2 separate regions of the Homo sapiens genome follow, and region 2 is linked to region 1. Evidence: promoter capture Hi-C in human tissues and cell types (Jung and others, 2019). All regions are on one chromosome and are shown on one strand. Each heading gives the region's core, a stretch centred on a gene start or on the middle of the fragment in contact. The rest is flanking DNA. Distances are from core to core; before and after follow the strand shown.

Region 1 (6,417 bases), core at 3,918-6,417:
CCCTGCTCTGAGCCTTACTGGTCCTGGGGCCAGCTCTGTGCTGGGAGTGGTGGGCACAAGGACACAGAGCAGGCTCGGGCTTTTTTCTCAAGGGGCTCCCGGTCTAGCCAAGGAACTGGAGTCCCGGTGGGGGTTGGGAGGCTCTGGGGCAGGTCATGGGTAGAACCAGAGTCGTTTCCACAACGCCTGGGAGGCCAAGCAGGAGTTAAAGAGTTGTCTGGGATGCAGCCAACATCTGAGGAAGCCAGGGAGGGAGCAGCCAGCTGTTTTGGGGGGAATTTGGGGGTCGGGCACTTCCCGGAGGCTGGACTGTAACGCTAGGGCTTTGCGGAGTTAGTAGGAGTTTGATCAGTCACTAGGAGGTCCTTGTTTGTTGTTATTACCAATGGCAGGCCTCCTCACCATTGCTGGAGAAAACCCGTGTAGGGTGAAGGGCAGGCATCCTGAGTTCAAATCCTGGTGGTGTCCCTTAGTAGCCATGGGACCTCGGGCAAGTGACTTAACTTCTCTGGGCCTCCAGGTCTCCATTTGTGAAACAGAGGTCATAGTCATTGCATGTTTCTCTAAGGCTGTGTTTTGAGTCACATTGTCCCGAACAGATCGTAGAGGTTTCATGTTAGCAGCCCGTTGTGTGCAGCTGAGAGGGTGGCAGATCCATAGAAACTGGGTTGGTTTTTGCCGATGACCAGGCAGGCTGCTAGAGGAAGTTGTTTTTGAGGTGAAGGAAATGGGTCTCAGAAGCTTCAGGGAGGTGGAGGTGGTGGCTGTGGCAGTGGCCGTGGCTGAGGAGGAGGACACATGGAGCATGGCTAGGTGCTGCCTGGCCTGGGCCTCTAACTCAGGTCATCCACAGGGCTCTTTGTGATGGATGAGGACGCCACCCTCCAGGACCTTCCCCCCTTCTGTGAGTCAGACCCCGAGAGTACAGATGGTGAGTGTCCCAGGCTGTTCCCCTCCCGACCTGAGGGCAGGCACACGGCCGACACAAAGGCAGGGACAGAAGCTGAAGTCCACCCTCTCTTTCAGATGGCAGCCTGAGCGAGGAGACCCCCGCCGGCCCCCCCACCTGCTCAGTGCCCCCAGCCTCAGCCCTACCCACACAGCAGTACGCCAAGTCCCTGCCTGTGTCTGTGCCCGTCTGGGGCTTCAAGGAGAAGAGGACAGAGGCGCGGTCATCAGATGAGGAGAATGGGCCGGTGAGGGGCAAATGTGGGGAGGTAGGGAGGGCAGCTGGAAGGGCTCTGAGCCGCCTCCTCCAGGAAGCCCTCCAGCATGGATGCTGCTTTCCACCCATAAGCTAACTGAATCCTCCCCTCAACCTCAAGAGGCGAGTTCTTGGACACGAGCCTTGCAGTTTTAACAATTGCAGCCTTACCATGTGTCCTAGTGCCTTATAGAGAAGGCCTCTCCTTTCCAGGAGCGTCTCTATTTATAGAACACCTGCTCTGGGCAAGGCACAGGTGTTTTGGCATGCCCTCCAGTGGAGAAACTGAGGCTTGGAGGGTTCAGATCACCTCCCATCCCCACCCTGCACATTCCTAGCCCTTTGCAGAATTTGTCCCACCCCCTGGTCCCCTGTTCACCCCTTGTAGCAACCCCTGTTTGAAGCTCCTGGGCTGGGCTCTGCTGGCCTAGGTGGGTCCTCCTCACCCTTCACTGAGCCTCCCTGAAGCAGAGGGGAAACTGAGGCACTGAGGGGACATGTGACTTCCCTGAGAGGCAGAGCTGGGACTGGAACCCAGGTGTGTTTCAGGAAGGAGCTGTGGGCTTTGAGGGAGGAGGCCTGGGTCCCCACAGTCCCCCCCTCAAGCCTCAGTGTCCTTATATGCAAACCAGCAGTCACAGTGGTGACCTTTTCTGTGCATCCTCCCTCAATGAAGCAGTGAGCACTGAAGACCAGGAACAGGGCCTGGTGCGGGCGGGGTCCACCTGCTGCTGCTCTCTGTGCTTGCGACTCATGGCAACACAGTTAATTGAATGCTCTGGCCTCTTGCGTGCTGTGCCCGGGGGCTGGTCTCCCACTGGGCTCAGGTCCAGTTCCTGATCTGGGTCTCCGGGTCCCATCCTGCGAGGGGACAGGCCCAGCTCCGGGTGACGGGGGCTGTAGTGGAGGCAGTACTAGGTGCCAGAACTGCAGGCTCCTTGGCGGGGGCTGACACAGCGAGGGATCTTTTCTGTAGCGCAGTGGCCACATGATAAGGCAGTAACAGCTGATTATCTCAGCCCTCACAGAGACCCTGTTATCCGCCCCATTTTTCAGAAGGGGAGACTGAGGCCTAGGGAAGCAAAACCTCTTGCTCATAGTTTGTCAGCGGCAGAGGTCTGATTGGAACATGACTGAAACCCCAGCCCAGATCCTCAGACATGAGACGGTGCACTCAGCCTTAATGGCTAGCAGGCAACAGCACTTCCACTGTGTAGGAAGCAATGTCCTAGGCCAAGAAGGGGAGAGGGAGAGGGGCAGGTAGGCTTCGTGGAGGAGGTGTCTGAACCGGGTAGAAGGGTTCCTACGTGGAGCAAGACGGGGAGGGGCACTGCTGGCAGTGGGCATCGCAGGGCACAGGTGGCAGGGCAGGGACGTGCTAGAAGTGGGCTTGGAGCCCGGGTGCACCCCTGGACCGCGTGTGGGTGCAGGGGGATTGCCCTGCCGGCGCTGACCTCGCCCCGTCGCCGTCCCCGCAGCCCTCTTCGCCCGACCTGGACCGCATCGCGGCGAGCATGCGCGCGCTGGTGCTGCGAGAGGCCGAGGACACCCAGGTCTTCGGGGACCTGCCACGGCCGCGGCTTAACACCAGCGACTTCCAGAAGCTGAAGCGGAAATATTGAAGTCCAGGGAGGGAGCGCCCCGGGCCGCGTCCGCCCCGTCCCACACTACGCCCCCGCCCCACTCCCGGGGCCTGCTAATCTGAGGCCGATCCGGGACCGGCCTCCTTGCGTCTCCCATTCCCAAGATTGTCCCGCCTCTGCCAATCCCCGCCGTCCTTCCAGCCCACGACCTGCCGCGCCGAGGAGCGGCATCTGTCCCGTTTCCCGATTGGGTCTGTCGTCTCTCTCCGCCTAGCGACAGATTCCTTCTATTAAGGGATTGGCTCGCTGAGTTCTAAGCTCTAAATGGGTCAACTCCTTTGTTTTCCGCCTAGCGACAAGGGATTTGCTCGCACGGCATTGGCTCCATCCCCTAGTCGCTGGACAGCTCTTTTTTTGATTGGCTCAAATCCTGTAAAGGGCTTGACCAGTCTCTACATAGTCACCGTCCGCTTTTCCTGAGTTCTCCCTCCCAATTGGCTCCAGCTTCCTGGGGGCGTGGCCAAGCCCTCCTCTTCCCAGAATTGGCCCGGGGCCTTCAATTTACGTTCTTTACACTACGGGGACTGGGGTCGTCTTTGCCCACGTCCCGACAACTTGTTCCCTGACCCCCTCAGGGATGGCCCCAAACTGTCCCTGCCTCTGGCACCCCCTTTCATTGGTTCCATCCATCCCCACAACAGCCTGCCAATCGAAGCCCGTCCCTGCATCCAGGATGGTACCAGCTCCCGCCCCTCGCCCCCCACCTCCACAGGTGCCTTAAAGGGCCCTCGTCCACCCAAGGTGGGGGGCAGGGGCCCTCACTCTCCGGCCCTGGTGTGGGGGAGAGAGTGAGGGGTTGGGGGATCGGCAGTTGGGAGGGGCGCTCTGAGATTAAAGAGTTTTACCTCTGAGATAAATGTGAAGTGTGTTGTGAGTGTTCATTCAACATTTTCTGAAACCGAATGGCAGCGTCTGATTATCAGTGAATAGCTGGGGGTTGGAATTACTGTGCCCATTTTATTTACTTTTTTGAGACAGGGTCCCACTCTCGCCCAGGTTCAAGCGATTCTCCTGCCTCAACCTCCCGAGTAGCTGGGATTACGCGCCACTGCCGCCCGGGTAATTTTTGTATTTTCAGTAGAAACAGGGTTTCATCATGTTGGTCAGGATGGTCTTGAACTCCTGACCTCAAATGATCCACCCGCCTTGGCCTCCCAAAGTGCTGGGATTACAGGCGTGAGCCACGGCGCCTGGCTTTGTGCCCATTTTATAGATATGAAGACACAGGTTCATGGGGTGGAGGAGAGCATCCCAGTCTTATGTGACCATGGAACCCAATCTTGAGGAGGTGAGTGTTGGAGACAGAGCCCACATATTCACCAGCAAAGCCAGGAACTCCAGCCGGGAGTCTTCTATTATAAAAGGACTGGAGCAACTGGGCTTGGTGCCTCACGCCTATAAGCCCAACACGCTGGGAGGCCAAGGCGGGAGGATCACATGACACCAGGAGGTCGAGATCAGCCTGGGCAGCACAGTGAGACCCCTTCTCCAAAGGGAAAAAAAAATGGCTGGAGGTTAGAAAGCAGGTGGAACCTCGTCCGAAATTAGGACTAGGTAAACGTAGTCCCACCAGACCACTACCGAAAGAATGCTAACACTAAATAAGACTTAAACGGATCTGAGCACTTTGGGAGGCCGAGGTGGGCGGATCACGAGATCAGGAGATCGAGACCGTCCTGGCTAACACGGTGAAACCCCGTCTCTACTCAAAATACAAAAAATTAGCTGGGCGTGGTGGCGGGCGCCTGTAGTCCCAGCTACTCGGGAGGCTGAGACAGGAGAATGGCGTCAACCCGGGAGGCGGAGCTTGCAGGTGAGCCGAGATCGCGCCACTGCACTCCAGCCTGGGCGACAGAGTGAGACTCCGTCTCAAAAAAAAAAAAAAAAAAAGACTTAAACAGGGCTCACTACCACCCATTTTTTAAAGCTTTTGTCACGTGTTAGCTCCTTTAATCGTCATGGTAACCCCACGAAGCGGAAACGATTATCCTTTTTATAGATGAGGAAACTAGAACATCGAGGGTGAAGCCAAAGAAGGACTTAGGGGCGCTGTCGGGGGCGGAGGTTTCCTCGACTGACAATGACCATCAGATGGGAAAAAAATCTTCCTCCCTGGGATGAAAATTAGAAGTCAAGGTGGAAAGAGGCAAATCTGCTAACGGAGGATCCAGTCCCCGCTACCGGCCTGAGCCTCGCGTTGCAGCAAGAGAGATGAAGGTCAGGGCTGCCGAGAGACCCTGGGGGCCGGGAGTCGGGGAAGGGGCGTGGCTGCTGTGGGAGGAGGCCAGGCCCCGCCCCCCACCCACGAGGGGACGAGTCATTTCCGTCCGCCGAGGAACCGACCGCCGCCGGCCGGGTTGCAGGCGGGGCACCTCGGGCAGGACCTCCCTGGTCGGAAGTGGCCGTGAGCCCAAGCCGCGGTCCCGGGTGAGTACGGGGCGGGGCGGAGGCATGTGCGAGGCTCTCTGCCTGTACGCTGGAAAGTGGGGATTGCAACTCGGGGAGGGATGGAGCACGCGTCGTCGCCTGGGAAACGGGTCGACCCGCGGAAGGCGAGCGGGTGGGACTTCCGGAGCAGTTAATGGTGGGGAAACTTTCTAGTGGATGTGGGAGGAGGCGGGACTTCCTGCAGCAAATTGGGGCTGTGCGCCGCTCAAGCCCGTTTACCTGCTCCCCAGGCCGGCACCCAGGATGGGCGAGGTGGAGGCCCCGGGCCGCTTGTGGCTCGAGAGCCCCCCTGGGGGAGCGCCCCCCATCTTCCTGCCCTCGGACGGGCAAGCCCTGGTCCTGGGCAGGGGACCCCTGACCCAGGTTACGGACCGGAAGTGCTCCAGAACTCAAGGTGAGCGGGGCCTGAGCTGGAGGGGGTGTGGCCTGCTGCAAAAGCGGGAACAATCCAGAGGGACGCTTGGCTGCTACGCGGGATTGCAGTGGTGCAGCCAGCCCCGAAGTCGGAAGGTGCTCTCTAGGGAGTACAGGAAGATAAAGTTTGTGCTTGATTTAGAATTAGCTAGATCCTTTGGGGGAGAGGGGATCGAGCCGATTTAGGGAGGATGTTCACTGCGCGGATGATGCTCAGGCCATCGGGAAATCCAGAAACAGGCGACGACCTTCGTCAAGAGAAAAATGATCCTGTGGAGAAAAGTAAATGTCGCTAGGTTGGGATGGATGGTAACAGGCCAAGCCCCGGACCTATATCTAGCCACATTTTTTGTCAAGGAGGAAACCAATTCTGTAGAGAAAAGTACCTCCCTGTCCCTTGCAAGGACCAGTGTCAGGCAATCCTAGTGCCACTATCTGGCTACTGCATGTCAAGGAGCCAATCCCATGTAGAAATAAACTGCCTCTTACTCCCTGGATGCTATAGCCTGAAGCAGGCCACACTCCCCAGAAATGAGGGACCCAATCACACAAGGATGCAAATCCTGACTCCACCCCTCCAATCCTCAGTGGAGCTGGTCGCAGATCCTGAGACCCGGACAGTGGCAGTGAAACAGGTATCAGTGCCTCTGCAAGGGCCAGCAAGGCCTGGGGATGGGATTTGGGGAGGAATTGCAAGCCGTCAGTGAA
Region 2 (6,417 bases), core at 2,454-4,953, 660 kb before region 1:
GGGACCTCCTCCTCCTGTTACTATTATTGATGTTATTATTATTAATAGAAATAGCAACCGAGTGCCTGCTTTATCAATCACCAGCATTTCCCAGGGAGGTGATAAGCTGCGTTTGGTGAGAAGGGCCCCATGTGTATTATGTTTGGGAAAACTAGAGTTGAGCAAAACAAAGCCGCTGTCTCCCACTGGGCTTCACGGAGCTTCAACACGCCAGGTGCACTGGAGTCTCGGGGAGGGAGTGTGCAGGCTCCTAACGCATTGATATGAGAGAGTGTTTTTTTGCTGTTGGTGTTTAGCGTCCCGGGAAATGAGCTCTGAGAACCGGCTCTGAGAAGCTCCAGGTTGGGTTCTTCCCCAGATACTCTCTCTGAGGAAGAAATGCAAGCTCTGGGGGGGTCCCCTGGCAGAGGGGGGAGTTTTAGAGCTCTAGCCCAGTCAGGCCAGAGACATTCTCAAGCCCCTGCTTCTCCTGCCCTGGACAGGCGATGCCCACAGCCCCCAGCCTCATGCCCAGGCACAGTCGCATCTCCGGCTGGGTGCAGAGACCCCAGGCCGGCTTGGGACCCAAATGACCCTCAGGACCCGCACCTGCAGAGGCATTCCTGCTGTACTCCGCCATTCTCCCTGCCCCACAAGGCCTGCCCGAGCCCATCCTCAGGCTGTGTCCTGCAGGCTGAGCCCCCACCAGCTCCCTGCAAATACATTCACACCCTCCTGCCTGTGAAATAGCATTCACGGAGGTCTCATTCAGTTCTGAAAGCTAGCCATGTTCACTCTGGGAAGTTAGACAAGGCAGAAGCCTATTAAGAAAAAAATCGGCCGGGCGCAGTGGCTCACGCCCGTCATCGCAGCACTTTGGGAGGGCAAGGCGAGTAGATCACTTGAGGTCAGGAGTTCAAGACCAACCTGGCTAGCATGGCGAAATGCTGTCTCTACTAAAAATACAAAAATTAGCTGGGCGTGGTGGTGCACACCTGTAATCCCAGCTTCTCGGGAGGCTGAGGCAGGAGAATTGCTTAAACCCAGAAGGCAGAGGTTGCAGTGAGCTGAGATCGCACCACTGCAGTCCAGCCTGGGCGACAGAGTGAAATTCCATCTAAAAAAAAGAAAGAAGAAATCAAGCACAGACATAGTGACTCACACCTGTAATCCCGGCACTTTGGGAGGCTGAGGCAAGAGGATTGCTCAAGGCCAGGAGTTTGAGACCAGGCTGGGCAACACAGCAAGACCCCATCTCTACAAAATTTTAAACTTAGCAAGGCATGGTGGTGTGTGCCTTTAGTCCCAGCTACTTGGGAGGCTGAGGTGGGAGAATCACTGGGACCCAGGAGGTTGAGGCTGCAGTGAGTTATGATCACAGCACTGCACTTCAGCCAGAGTGACAGAGGGAGACCCTGTCAGAAAGAAAGAGAGAGAGAGAGGGCCAGGCACGGTGGCTCACGCCTGTAATCCCAGCACTTTGGGAGGCCGAGGCAGGCAGATCACGAGGTCAGGAGATCGAGACCATCCTGGCTAACACGGTGAAACCCCGTCTCTACTAAAAATACAAAAAATTAGCCGGGTGTGGTGGTGCGTGCCTGTAGTCCCAGCTACTCCAGAGGCTGAGGCAGGAAAATCATTTGAACCCAGAAGGCGGAGCTTGCAGTGAGCTGAGATCGTGCCACCGCACTCCAGCCTGGGCAACAGAGCGAGACTCAAAAAAAAAAAAGAAAAAAAGAAAAGAAAGAGAGAAAGAGGGAGGGAGGGAGGGAGGGAAAGAGACAGAGAGAAAGGAGAAAGAAAAGGAAAGATCACCCTGTCAATTACAGATCAATGTCCATACGTAGGTATAGCCGTGGGCCAGTACTCTAGAGGGCCGTTCATATCATGTCTTTGAAGCACTATTCATGATGTAAGAAAATACTCACAATGTTATTAAGGGGAAATGCAGGACCCAGGCAAGTATATTGTATCATCAAAATTTTGTAAAAAAGCAAGCCACAATGAATGGCTCATGCCTGTAATCCCAGCACTTTGGGACACTGAGGCGGGTGGATCATTTGAGGTCAGAAATTCGAGACCACCTGGCCAACATGGTGAAACCCCCTCTCTACTAAAAAAAAAAAAAAAAAAAGAAAAAAGAAAGAAAACAGCCGGGCGTGGTGGCTCATGCCTGTAATCCCAGCACTTTGGGAGGCTGAGGCGGGCAGATCACGAGGTCAGGAGATCGAGACCGTCCTGGCTAACACAGTGAAACCCCATCTCTACTAAAAATGCAGAAAATTAGCTGGGAGTGGTGGCGGGTGCCTGTAGTCCCAGCTACTCGGGAGGCTGAGGCAGGAGAATGGCGTGAACCCAGGAGGCGGAGCTTGCAGTAAGCCGGGATTGTGCCACTGCACTCCAGCCTGGGTGACAGAGCGAGACTCTGTCTCAAAAAAAAAAAAAATACAAAAATACAAAAATTAGCCGGGCGTAGTGGCGTGTGCCTGTAATCCCAGCTACTCATGAGGCTGAGGCAAGAGAATTGCATGAACCCGGGAGCCAGAGGTTGTAGTAAGCCAAGATTGTGCCACTGCACTCCATCCTGGGCAACAGAGTGAGACTCTATCTCAAAAAAAAAAAAAAAGTAAAAGATAATGAAAAAATATATCCCTGCATAATATGCATAGAAAAAATTGGAAGGATGTGCCAAATGATTAACATAAATTAGCTCTGGGTAGATGTATTTTGGCCAATTTTTATTTTCTTCTCATACATTTTTTCCTAAATGAGTATATATTACTTTTTAACAATTTTTTTAATTTTAGAAACACGGTTTCACCTTATTGCCTAGGCTAGTCTGGAACTCCTGACCTCAAGTCATCTGCCTGCCTCGGCCTCCCAAAGTGCTGGGATTACAGGCGTAAGCCACTGCGCCTATCCTTCGTCTATCCTTTTCACTCTGAGGCGGTGGAGTCCTTCATTGCGCAAGACGCCCTGTGGTTGGGACCCAGTCCCTGCCCTCCCTGGAGGCACCTGGACTCTGGGCTCCAGGGAACCCAGCCCCGGGGATCCCTGACCAGACTGGGGTGGGGAGACGGGACCAGGACATCCTCCTGTGTAAGTGACCCTGGAACTAGGTGTTGAAGGACAGATGCAGGGAGGTATCCAGGAAAAAAGCAGGAAAGGTGCAAAGGCCAGAGGCAAGAGTGTGTCTGCTGGGCTCAGGGACTTGCCAGAACAGGAGGTGGGGGAAACAAGTAGAGGAGGAAGGAGAAGGTGGTGCCAGGCGGATGAGCTGCTCCAGGGCAGAGACTGTGTCTTATGGGCTCTCACTGTCATTGTCGCCTTGGTGGCAGCACAGCGGGGCATGGGAGAGTCTTATGCTGGGACTGACGGGCAGTCCTGGGAGGATTGTGAAGGGCCCAGGGGAGGGACAGGGGATCTGTGGGTATAAACAGACTTCTATTTTATTTTATTTTTGAGACTGAGTTTCTCTCTTGTTACCCAGGCTGGAGTACAATGGCGTTATCTCGGCTCACCGCAACCTCGCCTCCTGGGTTCAAACGATTCTGCCGCCTCAGCCTCCCAAATAGCTGGGATTACAGGCATGCGCCCTGCCTAAACAGACCTTTCTAGGGCCTGGTGGGAGAGGCAGAGGGCTGAGGTGCAGCTGGGGCCATTGGCATGGAGAGGAGAGGCTGGAACAGGGAGTCGGAGGACAGGGGGCCAGGATGGGGGCGGCCCTGATTTTCTGCGGGAAAGGATGCAGTCAGACAGTTCTTGCCGGGGAGGGTGGCTCACGTGTGTAATCCCGGCACTTTGGGAGGCCGAGTTGGGCAGATCACCTGAGGTCAGGAGTTCAAGACCAGCCTGGCCAACATGATAAAACCCTCGTCTCTACTAAAAAAAAAAAAAAAAAATACAAAAATTAGCCGGGTGTGGTGGAGGACGCCTGTAATCCTAGCTACTTGGGAGGCTGAGGCAGGAGAATCACTTGAACCCGGGAGGTGGAGGTTGCAGTGAGCCAAGATTACGCCATTGCACTCCAGCCTAGGCAACAAGAGCAAAACTCCCTCTCAAAAAAAAAAAAAAAAGTACGGTTCTTGGCCCTAAGAGCCGCCTTTCAGTGGACGGCTCAGGGCTGTAATCCCAAGGGCATGGTACAAGTTTCTCAACGCCAACGATAACGATAACAATGAGAATGACGACGTGCTGAGCACCCCTGAACACTGGGACCTCATCTCCTCTCCCTCACCCTCTGAAGTGCTTTTCATCATCCTCCTCGTGGTAAGAGTGAGCCCAGAGGTACAGAGAGCTCAAGTGACAGGCCCTACAACCAGGACGGGGGAGGCGGGATTTGAACAGGGCTCTGCTCTTCACACTACACCCGTGACCTCTGTTTCCGTGTCTGTCCACGGGGAACGGCGATGGGTGGGTGTGAGGTGGCCGAGCGAGACGGGGAGGGGCGCAGGCTCCGGCCAGCCCTGCCCAGCTCTGCCATGGAGCAAGCCACTTCTTTAGGCTCCTGTTTCCTCCTTTCTAAAACGGGGCGATCACAGTCCTTGTTCTTAGGGCTGCTGGATGGACAAAAGGTGACTGTGTCCACAGAGCGTCCCTGGGCACCGAGTAAACCCGCAGCATCTCACAGGGCAGCCGCCAGCATCGGGGCTGCTGGCTGGGCTCGGGGACTGCATGCGTTGCTACTGAGAGGTGCCCTGGACGCCCTGGGTGTAAAACACATGTTGGGTTTCCTTGGATTTCGAAGCTCCACCATAAAGAGTGTAAAATGGCTCAATCGCAAGTTTGCATCTGATGACAGGTTCAAATGAGAGTATTTTGGACCTGTTGAGCTAAATAAATATATTAGTAAAGTTGATTTCACCTGTTTGGTTTTTTCTTTATTATTATTTCAATGTGGCTTCTAGGAAATTTAAAATTACACATGTGGGCTGGGTGTGGTGGCTCACACCTATAATCCCAGCACTTTGGGAGGCTGAGACGGGAGGATCGCTTGAGGCCAGGAGTTTGAGACCAGCCTGGGCAACATAGGGAGACCCCATCTCTACAAAAAATTAAAATAAAATAAAATTAGCCAGGTGTGCTGGCACGTGCCTGTAGTCCCAGCTACTCAGGAGGCTGAGGCGAGCAGATCACTTGAGCCCAGACGGTCAAGGCTGCAGTGAGCCGAGACTGCGCCACTGCACTCCAGCCTGGGTGACACAGCAAGACTCTGTCTTAAAACAAAACAACCAAACAAACATTACACACGTGTTCACATTCTATTTCTATTGGACAGCACCGACATACATTATTATTATTTTATGATTCTGCCTATGCCACAGATTCTACCATTTCTTACGCTGTTTGCCTCTCAGGTATATCTGGGTTTGGTTTTGTTTTTATTCCTGCTTACTGTAAAAGTAATTTTTCCTCATTGAGGAAAAAATATCACACAAGAATAAAAATTGTCCATAATTCCCAACAGATAAAGTTCACTACTAAGAAAAGCTTGGAGTATGTCCTTCCAGTTTTTTTTTTTTTTTAGACAGAGTCTCACTCTGTCACCCAGGCTGGAGTGCAACTGGGCGATCTTGGCTCACTGCAACCTCCGCCTCCCGGGTTCAAGAGATTCTCCTGCCTCAGCCTCCCAAGTAGCTGGGATTACAGGCACCTGCCACCATGCCTGACTAATTTTTTGTATTTTTAGTAGAGATGGGGTTTCGCCATGTTGGCCAAGCTGGTCTCGAAATCCTGACCCAGGTGATCCACCTGCCTTGGCCTCTCAGAGTGCTAGGATTACAGGCATGAGCCACCATGCCCGGCCTCTTTTTTGTTTTTAAGATGGAGTCTCACTGTGTTGCCCAGGCCAGAGTGCAGTGGCGCGATCTCGGCTCACTGCAACCTCCGCCTCCCTCTTGCCTCAGTCTCCCGAGTAACTGGGATTACAGGCACCCCCCACCACCCCCGGCTAATTTTTGTATTTTTAGCAGAGACGGAGTTTTATCATGTTGGCCAGGCTGGTCTCAAACTCCCAACCTCAACTGATCTGCCCGCCTCGGCCTACCTAAGTGCTGGGATTACAGGTGTGAGCCACCACGCCCGGCCTCTTTTTCTCTTTTTTCTTTTGGTGCATATACTCTGATACCTAATTCTTCAGCTTCTTTGTGATGACACAGGATGCATCTGAGGTTCTCAGTTTCCTCCGTTAATACTGTAACACCGCATTCCCCCAGTGTCCGTCCCCTTCTCCCTGGCACACACCACTATCTGGGCTTTGCAGATATGATCCAATGGCTGTGTGGCCTTCTGGGCCTCAGTGCACCCGGCGTGGTCATCAGTAGTGAGGACCCTGTGAGCTCCTGCCTCCCGTGCTCTGACCCAGCACTGCCCCTCCCGTGGACCCCAGCTCCAGCCCTGAGAGGCGGCAGCCAGGGTCAGAGGTCAAGAGCCAGGACT

What was found. The method cuts DNA at HindIII sites, captures the fragments that hold promoters and counts their contacts. A contact is called where the count stands out against the background at its distance.
Region 2: a contact is called between a fragment that was not itself captured here and the fragment with the promoter of PNKP in region 1, in 1 of the 25 tissues and cell types used here (dorsolateral prefrontal cortex).

Annotation. Positions count from the first base shown.
Region 1 is chr19:49,866,326-49,872,742 of GRCh38, reverse strand. It overlaps PNKP (polynucleotide kinase 3'-phosphatase), which reads left to right and starts at 5,167. Exons shown (of 17, transcript NM_007254.4): 1 at 5,167-5,274; 2 at 5,526-5,689; 3 at 6,298-6,344. The coding sequence starts at 5,539. It overlaps AKT1S1 (AKT1 substrate 1), which reads left to right. Exons shown (of 5, transcript NM_001098633.4): 3 at 854-931; 4 at 1,027-1,196; 5 at 2,683-3,704. The coding sequence ends at 2,826. RefSeq lists enhancers at 2,084-2,731, 4,930-5,711, 5,712-6,417 and silencers at 2,647-2,956, 5,031-5,330, 5,401-5,770. The HindIII fragment of the contact is 3,630 bases long and covers 2,759-6,388 here.
Region 2 is chr19:50,523,045-50,529,461 of GRCh38, reverse strand. The region is part of intron 2 of LRRC4B (leucine rich repeat containing 4B); the gene reads left to right. The region is part of intron 1 of LOC124904747 (a long non-coding RNA gene); the gene reads right to left. Among named protein-coding and RNA genes, the nearest start is that of ASPDH, 12 kb to the right of the region's middle. The HindIII fragment of the contact is 7,994 bases long and covers 1-6,417 here.